3 separate regions of the Homo sapiens genome follow, and regions 1 and 3 are each linked to region 2. The links are contacts of gene promoters, found by promoter capture Hi-C in blood cells and fetal thymus (Javierre and others, 2016). All regions are on one chromosome and are shown on one strand. The core of a region is centred on a gene start or on the middle of the fragment in contact, and the rest is flanking DNA. Distances in the headings are between cores, read along the strand shown.

Region 1 (2,839 bases), core at 90-2,589, 130 kb after region 2:
TTTCTCCTTACGGTTATGTTCTTGGAATTTTATTTAAGAAATCTTTTTCTATCCTGAGACCACAAAAATGTCCCCACCATTTTCTTCTGTTTCATAGTTTTGCCTTGTATGTTTAATCCTTTAAGGCATGTGTAGTTCATTTTATATGGTGTGAAATAGTTCTTATTCATTTATTCAACACATATTGGTGGAGTGCCTGCTGAAGGTAGTACTCTTCAGAGTACTTTGTATATATTTGTGAACACATATTCTTGCCCTGGAAGCTTATGTTGTCCTTCAAGGTAGATCCCTACTCGGTTTCCACCTGTTTTCTTCAGCCCTCAGGATGAATTCCACAATTTTACACATAGCACCAGTTAAGGAATAGGCTTTATTGGAGAAAAGGAAGGCTTATTAGACCAGCATCAGCAAGAAAAAAAAAAACCAAAAACAGAGGGTCTTCATTTCTTCATCATCCCCAAAAAAGCCTGCTGGAGCCTGCGCATTCTGCTAGATATGCACGTGAACAGAATCTGCGCAGTCGGCTAGATGTGCTTGTGAACGGAGCCTGCGCAGTCTGCTCCATATGCATGCGTCCATCCCAGTGGAGAACCTTACCCTTTTATTGTTCGTCCTTAAAGGGCAAGCCTGAGAGCAACCTTAATTACGTGGGAAAAATTAGATCATTTTGTATCAGGCAGTCTAGATTTGGGTGCCAGCTATTTGTCAGAAAACCAGCTACCCCATAGTTGGAGATATTGAGAACTTAGGAGAGTTATAGCCCTTTCTAAAGTGGGAAGGGAGACTCAGTTTCTTAATGCTAGTGTAACAAATTATGCAAATTTAGTGGCTTAAAAACACCACCTGTTTATTATCTTACAGTTTTGGAGTCAGAAATATGAAGTAGGTCTCTGGGCTAAAATGAGGTGTTGCCAGTGCTGTTTTTCTAGAGCCTTCGAGGGAGAATCCGTTCCTTGTCTAGCTTTCAGAAGCTACCTGCATTCCTTGGCTCAAAGCTCCTTTCCTCCATCTTCAAAGCCAGTCACAGCTAACCGGCAGATCTTCACATTGAATCACTCTGGCTCTCTCTTCCAATTTCCTCTTCTACTTTTAAGGACCTTCTACTTTTATTTATTTGTTTCAAGAGATAGGGTCTCGCTGTTGCCCAGGAGGGAGTGCAGTGGCACGATCATCATTGACTGCAGCCTCGACTCCTGGTCTCAAGCGATCTTCTCACTTCAGCCTCCCAAGTAGCTAGGACAACAGTTGCACACCACCATGCCTGGCTAATTTTAAAAATGTTTTTATAGGAGACAGGTTCTTTTTATGTTGCCCAGGCTGGTCTTGAACTCATGGGTTCAAACAGTCCTCTCTCCTCGATCTCCCAGAGTATTAGGATTACAGGCATGAGGCACCGTATCTGGCCCTAGCTGCGTTTTAAAAACGATCACACTCTGGCCGTTGTATTGACTGAGAATAGACTGTGAGGGGACAAGAGTGGACACAGGGACCCCCTTTAGGAGATTGTTGCAGTACTCCAGGTAAGGGGTGGTGGTGGCTGTTGTACTGATATACGCAATACAGAGCCTATATTTGGACAACCATGGTTCATCCCCATCTGGAATGATACCTACTTAGGTTGATACACCAAAACTGTGACATGGAGCCACAAGTGGTTTAGCCTCACCTCTGAATAGCGTTCGTATGAGATGGAGCTCAAAATAAGATTGCTCTATGCAAAGCATTTGAATGCAGTGCCTGATGCTCGGCGAGTAATGGTTAATACAAATGAACATTTAAATTCTTCATTTAGTGAAATCTTGTAAGTGGGAGCACAACTCTTTTGTAAATGTCGAAATACCAAATTTAGTGGAGCGTTCCTTTTAAAGGTACGCCTCTTTTTAGATGTGGTAGTACGCTTAGAATAACTACTCAGAAGGTGCTGTGGACTGAAAGTGCGTATGGAATTCAAAGACATTCATTGACCTACTGCGAGGTAGTTAATAACAGAACCTGGTACTTAACAGTATTAACACCTCAGACATGTCCACAAAGAAATATCTATGTATATTAGCTATTTGTGTATTCTTTAGCATTTTTAAAATTCTAATGTTTTTGTATCAGTGGTTTTAAGCAATAGATAAAAATTTTACATGGGATAATTAAAAACTGAAGTAGTGGTCTGTTTAAAATAAAACCACCTCTGAAAAAATCATTAAAAATTTTCTACTGTGTGTAATCAGGGAAATAATGTGCATATCTGTAATTTGTTACTTTGTTTTGCTGTTTTATAATATTCTTGCATTTATAAGAGACATCATTTGTACCAAATCCTAGCTGATTAATTTGCATATCATTGTATCAGTGTGATACTTTGCAGTAAATTCTGCTACTAAGGTACAACTTTCAGCTGAATAAACATAGTTCATCTCCATGTTAAGCTTCAGGTTTGAATCTGTTATTGAGACTGAGTTGCTTTAATATAGTTAACAGACCCTTAACTTAATTTTGAGGTAACTTGTTGATTGCAATTGGTCCCGAAAACATCTCAGTAAATCCAGTAGATTAATGAAGTTGTCATGTCAGGTTAATAAACACCAGTTTTTTAAAAAATTAGTTTATAAATGTCATTTGTGGATTTTCTTTATTTTATTTTTCAAACAGGGTCTCTTGTCGCCCATACTGGAGTGCAGTGGTGCGATCATGGCTCACTGCAGCCTCAGCCTCCTGGGCTCAGGTGATCCTCCCACCTCAGCCTCCGAAGTATTAATAGCTGGGACTACAGGCGCGTGCCACCACGCCCTGCTCATTTTTGTATTTTTAGTAGAGACAGGATTTCGCCAAGTTACCCAGGCTGATT
Region 2 (3,080 bases), core at 439-2,938:
ACTTCGTAGGCTGAGGCTAGGAGTTTCAGTGAGCTATGATAGTACCACTACACTCCAGCCTGGGAGCAGGGCCAGACCCTCATCTCTAAAATTAAATTAAATTAAAGGAGAAAGCACACTAGTAACAATGCACTCAGGTCTGGTCACCTTCTGCCAGAAAATTATCTAGTACCATAAACAAAGCCAGATTCAAACAAGCGCCAGGCAGGACAATCTGTGCACTACAGTGCCAACCTTGCAATACTCAGAGTACCCTCCAGAACTACAGGGACAGTGAATAGACAATAAGGTGCCAGATAAAGAACCTCTGGGAAGTCCAGGGACTTCTGCGCCCACCACATCTGGCTAATTTATTTCTATTTTTATTTTTTGAGAGACAGGGTGGCTATGGTGCCCAGGCTGGTCTTGAACTTCTGGCCTCAAGCTATCCTCCTGCTTCAGCCTCCCAAGTAGCTGGGATTTGCTTGCTCTTTTTAGCTAGGTCTGTGATGTGGTGGGAGCAGTCACCATGCAGGTCTCAAGAAAGGATTTTGGTATAAAGGGATTGCCATGGCCACAGATGACCAGAAGTAATTACAGCATCCTGTCTCCTGCACCAGTGCTTCCACACAGCTTAAGTAAAAGGGTCAAAACTGTAACCTGATTCTGCTACTTACGCATGGCACAACTGTAGGGAGTTGAAATGTTTTTATTCATCACGAAGACAGTACCGGGGTCAGTTTTCCCAACATGCTTAACTTCTATCTTCTCAGTTCGGGGAGTTAATGATAACTGCCTGGCTTTCTCTTTATTAAAGAGATCATTCCGCATTTCTGTCAATTCTGTCGGTGACAGCTGAGAAGCTGACGATGTTGCTATAAATCCTGTGGAGAAGTTACAATAAATATGAAGACTGAAAAAATGATTAACGTACTGCCAAAAGTGCGCTCAGAGGTAAAATTAAACCAATTTGTAATATTAACAAACACCAGCGGAAGAAACAGAGCTGGCCCAGATACGTGCCTCTACTTTTAAATTTGGCTCTTTCACATCAGATCGCTATTTCCCACCAATTTCCTGTGTCGTGTTTCCAATCAGTGCTTTACAATAAGGGGCAAAAAGTAACCAGGAAACGGAGTCAAAACTGGACTAGAGTCATTGGGAAGGTGAACAAAGTGGTCGGTTTGACAGGGTCTGAAGAAAAACAAGAAAATTTCAGGAAACCAAAGGTCCCACACCGAAACTATCAATATCCAGAATGAGAAATGCTGAGTTTATATCCCAAAGGCCAAATCAGGGAACCTGCCAAGGCAAGTACGAGTATTCCTTGGGAAGACATGGACAGATGTGCACGGAACGTGCGCTGCTTCCCAGAGGCGGGCCCAAGCTCCTCCCGCGGCCTGGCTCCGACCCCTGGCCCCGACCCCTGCCCTTGCCCCTGCCCTCCGCCAGACCCTCGTTCCCATAAATTAGTCCTCCCAAGCTGTGCAAGAGCGACCGCCGCGGAGGGACTAAGAAACCCTCCTCCTTCCTCTGCCCCGCGGGACCTCCCCGGCCCCGCCTCAGACCCAATCTAGACAGACACCACTATCTAGGCCTCGCTCCCTGTCCCTACGGCCTCTGAAACTCACTCCATTTGATCCCGCCACCGGGTGCGACCAGCCAGAGCCGCAGCGCCCGGGAACCCATGGCCAGCGCCTCCATAGCAGCGGTGAGAACCGTCGCGCGCAAGTCCTTCTCCGCCCTCCTCCCCCGGAAACCGAACGCGCACTCGGAGTTCCGCAGGACAGGTCTGTTCCGGACCCAGCACTCAGACTGCTCGCCTCCACCGGGGGGCGTCAGGCCTCGCTGGGGATTCAGTGGCTGAGACCCCGAGACTCGGAGCCGGGGCGCGTTACCTGTGCTCGATACCTGGGCGCGGTCACCTACCCAGAGGTGCAGGGCCCCCAGGGCGGTCGGCCTGCCGCCCACCACGTAGGCTCTGCAGGGAAACAGAGTTCCACAGGCGTCGTTGCCCTCCGCCTTCAGCCCTCCGCGGGTTCGATCCCGGCCACCCAGGTGAAGCGCTTGCTTCCCTAAAAGAATATATGGTTTTCTTGGCGGGGGCGGGGGTGGGGGGGAATGGGGAAGGCGTCTTCTATTTTGTCAGCGATGACATCCTCTAGCGCGTGGCTTAACTTTCAATTGTGCCGGGTAGGTTCTTAGTTCGGCTGGAGTGGGTCTGCACCCCGGTTCTCCCCTTAGCTGTGGTAATAGAGGCCTCGGAACACGTCCCCTTGACTTTGGAGAGGACGTTGTAATTCCTAAGAGCTCTTTACAAATTTTCTAGTTTAGTTTATATAGTATAGGATGTATAGGAGAAGGCATCCCGGGGCAGAATTTTTGTCTCTAGTTCACTGATGTATCCCAAGCGCCCAGAACAGAGCACAGCGCAGTCAGCGCTCAACAGATGTTTCTTGAATGAATGAATGAATGAATGCCCTTGCAGGCAAACTTCAGCTCATTGTCTAATTTTTCTGTCCTACCAGGACGTGAGTGTTATTTGAAGTAAGCACTCTGTAGGTACAGGATGGAAATATTTTCATTTACAGTAGTTTAATTCTGTGGCTTTACTTAAGGGTGTCGAATTCAGCCTTTCCCCCACTCTGTCCTTTGCCTTGCAATTGGAATGCGCCGCCACCAGGTGGAAGTGCCGCCTAAGGTACAAATATGACCCTGCGCCACGATAGATCGACCGTCTCCTTGGCCCAAATGTTACACTCACAACCACTGCGCCAGGAAAGTGTAAGTATCTTCACTTTTTAAAATGGGAAATGTAAGTGACGGAGCTTGGATTTACATCCAGTCTACATTTTACCAGGCTACATTTCATTTAAGATCCTAATTCAAACCACGAAATGTACATATATACATATAGTGTTGGAGGGCGGGTGTATCTTTTGCTTCCTCAAATTTGCATACAGTTCCCATGAAAGCTGTCTGTTTCATCGGCCTTTTAGAGCCTGTACCCATTTAACCTTACCTAGAAACACTCTAGTGCCCTTAGAACATCTTAGAGCCACATTTAAGCAAAGCCTCTGAACATAAACTTAAGCAAGTTT
Region 3 (3,025 bases), core at 114-2,613, 210 kb before region 2:
GGGCTCTCTGGAAGAAACAGGGAGGTGGGGTTTGAGGTCACAGCCTATGAAGGGAAGGGAGGGGAAGCAGGATTATGCAGAAGCCACTCTGGGATGCAGGTTCCTCCAAGATGATCCATGTGCTTTGTTTCCTCAGAAAATAATACACTGGAAACACTTTGGGGCCTTTTGTTTTTTTTTTTGAGACCGAGTCTTGCTCTGTTACCCAGGCTAGAGTGCAATGGCGCAATCTTGGCTCACTGCAACCTCCACCTCCTGGGTTCAAGCAGTTCTCCTGCCTCAGCCTCCCAAGTAGCAGTGATTACAGCTCACGCCACCATGCCTGGCTAATTTTTTTTTTATTATTATTTGTTGGCTAGGCTGGTCTCGAACTCCTGATCTCAGGTGATCCACCTGCCTCGGCCTCCCAAAGTAGGGGACATTGTTTTTAAAAAGTTAAAGGATACAAAATTAAAAAGCTAGATAGGAGGAATAGGTTCTAGTGCTCTACACTACTGTAGGATGATTATATTGAATAATAATTAACAGTAGAGTTTCAAATAACTAAAAGAAGGATATTGAATGTTCCCAATATGAAGCAATGATAAATGCTTGATGACAGATATGCTAATTACCCTGATCTAAGCACCATATATTATATGTATCAAAATATCAATATGTACCCCACAAACATGTACAGTTATTGTGTGTCGATGTTAAAAAGAAAAAAGAAAAATAGTTTGGATGGATCCTCAAAATGTTCTATCTCATTCAGCTTCCATAAGTGACATTTATTAAAAGTTTTTGATTAAAAAGGAAACTTTTTATGAATTATGATTGTGACAAAGATTCTGTGCTTGACCAAACTTTGGTCCAGCTTGTGAATGTTCTCCGAGGCCTATCTGTGCACTTTCTTATAAAACACGGTTTTAGAAGAACCCTGCTAACTTTAGCAAGAACCCTCCATCCTTGATATCTGATCAGGTTCCTAACCCTCCACCATCCCCCAGATGATATCTGATCATCCTGGTCTATCCTCAGCAAGAATCTAATTAGTTCAGTTTGGCCAGAATCCTGCTTACTCCTGGTGTTATTTCTTAGCAATTTTTCATGCATGACTCCCGCCTTGCACCTTGGCTATAAATTCCCTCTTGCCAATACTGTATTTGGAATTAAGCCCAATCTTTCTCCCCACGGAAAAATCCCGCTGCAATGGTCCCCATATTATAATGGTCCTGGATAAACTGCCTGTTTATTTGAAGTATGGTAGTACTTTAAAGTGTCATTGAGTTTTTTTTCTTTAACCATTATTAGGGAAATACACCAAAATGTTAACATTGGTTGTATTTTTTCTGCTTCTATGTACTTGTCTTCATTTACCTGTTATCAAGAGTAAGCATGTATAACTCTTAAGGAAGTTATAATTATACAATAAAAACCCAACACCAAAAGGGGTGAGACAAGTGTTTATGGGGCAAAGAGTGTGAAATGAGAAAGTTTGGATCTAAAAAATTAAAAATTAACAATGGTTTATTTTGATTGACTGGAATTATAAATAATTTTATTTCCAAATTTCTTTCTTTCTTTTTTTTTTAATGGAGTCTTACTCTGTCTCCCAGGCTGGAGTGCAGTGGTGCAATTTTGGCTCACTGCAGCCTCCACCTCCCGGATTCAAGCGATTCTCCTGCCTCAGTCTCCAGAGTAGCTGGGATTACAGGCAACTGCCACCACGCCCAGCTAATTTTTGTATTTTTAGTAGAGACAGAGTTTCACCATGTTGGCCAGGCTGGTCTCAAACTCCTCACCTCAAGTGAACCGCCCTCCTCAGCCTCCCAAAGTGCTGGGGTTACAGGCATAAGCCACCGCGCCCAGCCTACTTTTCCAAATTTCTTATAGAGAGGAGTTATTACCTTTATCATGGGGAAAAAAGCAAGTCCTTCAAACACTTTTGATCTTAAAATATATTTAAAATATAAAATAATGAACCTGGTGGAGACGTTAACCTTGGGTAGCTGACACAGGTACTTCTCCAAGGAGAGAAATAAACAGTTGACATAGCTTTAAGTCTTCCTAAACTCAGGTTGCAATAGGAGCAGTACAGTTTGCTGAGAGGGACAGTGAACAGCAGTATTCGGAATAGAGGAGCGGCCTCCAGTACAATGACTAGTTAGAGGTTCTTTCGGGGATTCTCAGGGTTTCTGAAAGTGGAAATGCCTCTTCATCTGGAGCACTTTTGAAAGGGACCTCGATCTATCTTTCCTCCATGCAGGGGGCTTTCCAAACACATCATATGAAAATTACAGCAAGTGGCATCTGTCCTGTTAACATCCCTCTCCCCATGAGTCATTCAGGTGTTCATCACACCCACAGACCCTCCACTCACACCACCATCTCCCACCATCAAAATTATTCGTACCAGTGTGACTAGAGGCCTGCTGGATTCTCCCCTCATCCACTCAGAGGATGTCTCTTAGAAACCATGCCAAGCAGGGTGCGAACCATCCAACTCCAAGCAAAGCCTGTGCTGCCGCAACTCTGCCTCACGGACTCAAAGACTGTCACTGGTGGTCACAGAATTAGTCAACAGGAACTTGACTGTACTGGGGGAAGTTTTCCAGGCCTCATCTCATCTCTCAGTTCCAAAGAGCTAATCTGAGAAATAAATTAAACCTTTTACAGTATTGCTGCTGTAAAATCAAAAGGAAAATCATAAATGTTGTAGAAATTGCAATCTTGATGCCATTTAAAATGCCATATCTTTTCAGTCAACGCAATGCCTAGGTTATATTTTTCTCCTTTAAATCAAGTAGGCCACTTAAAGAGATAATCTGAATATGAATACATTCTACATTATAACACAGAAGAGATAGAGATTAAATGGATTTTTAAAATTTTAGAAACTTGGAATGAATTGATTCCATAATATATATATATCTCCTTCAGAGAATTATTTTACTTTAAAATCTCCAGTGAAAGATATTTGAAAGCCATCTTTGTTTTTATGTATATTTGAAATTTCTGATTGATTTTGCAATGTAATCTTTTA

What was found. Contacts are between HindIII fragments. The CHiCAGO score rates a contact against its expected background, and 5 or more counts as called.
Region 1: a fragment that was not itself captured here is called in contact with the fragment with the promoter of MRPL39 in region 2 in 8 of 17 cell types (naive CD8 T cells, non-activated CD4 T cells, naive CD4 T cells and 5 more); the score reaches 11.4 in naive CD8 T cells.
Region 3: a contact is called between a fragment that was not itself captured here and the fragment with the promoter of MRPL39 in region 2, in 1 of 17 cell types (activated CD4 T cells). The highest score is 5.2, in activated CD4 T cells.

What each region holds. Positions count from the first base shown.
Region 1 is chr21:25,738,513-25,741,351 of GRCh38, forward strand. All of the region lies in intron 1 of GABPA (GA binding protein transcription factor subunit alpha), which reads left to right. Among named protein-coding and RNA genes, the nearest start is that of GABPA, 5.0 kb to the left of the region's middle. The HindIII fragment of the contact is 2,157 bases long and covers 262-2,418 here.
Region 2 is chr21:25,605,793-25,608,872 of GRCh38, forward strand. It overlaps MRPL39 (mitochondrial ribosomal protein L39), which reads right to left and starts at 1,689. Exons shown (of 10, transcript NM_017446.4): 1 at 1,611-1,689; 2 at 657-863. The coding sequence starts at 1,683. RefSeq lists an enhancer at 1,634-1,753 and a silencer at 2,734-2,793. The HindIII fragment of the contact is 17,691 bases long and covers 1-3,080 here.
Region 3 is chr21:25,394,054-25,397,078 of GRCh38, forward strand. The region is part of intron 4 of LINC00158 (long intergenic non-protein coding RNA 158); the gene reads right to left. Among named protein-coding and RNA genes, the nearest start is that of LINC00158, 36 kb to the right of the region's middle. The HindIII fragment of the contact is 3,774 bases long and covers 1-3,025 here.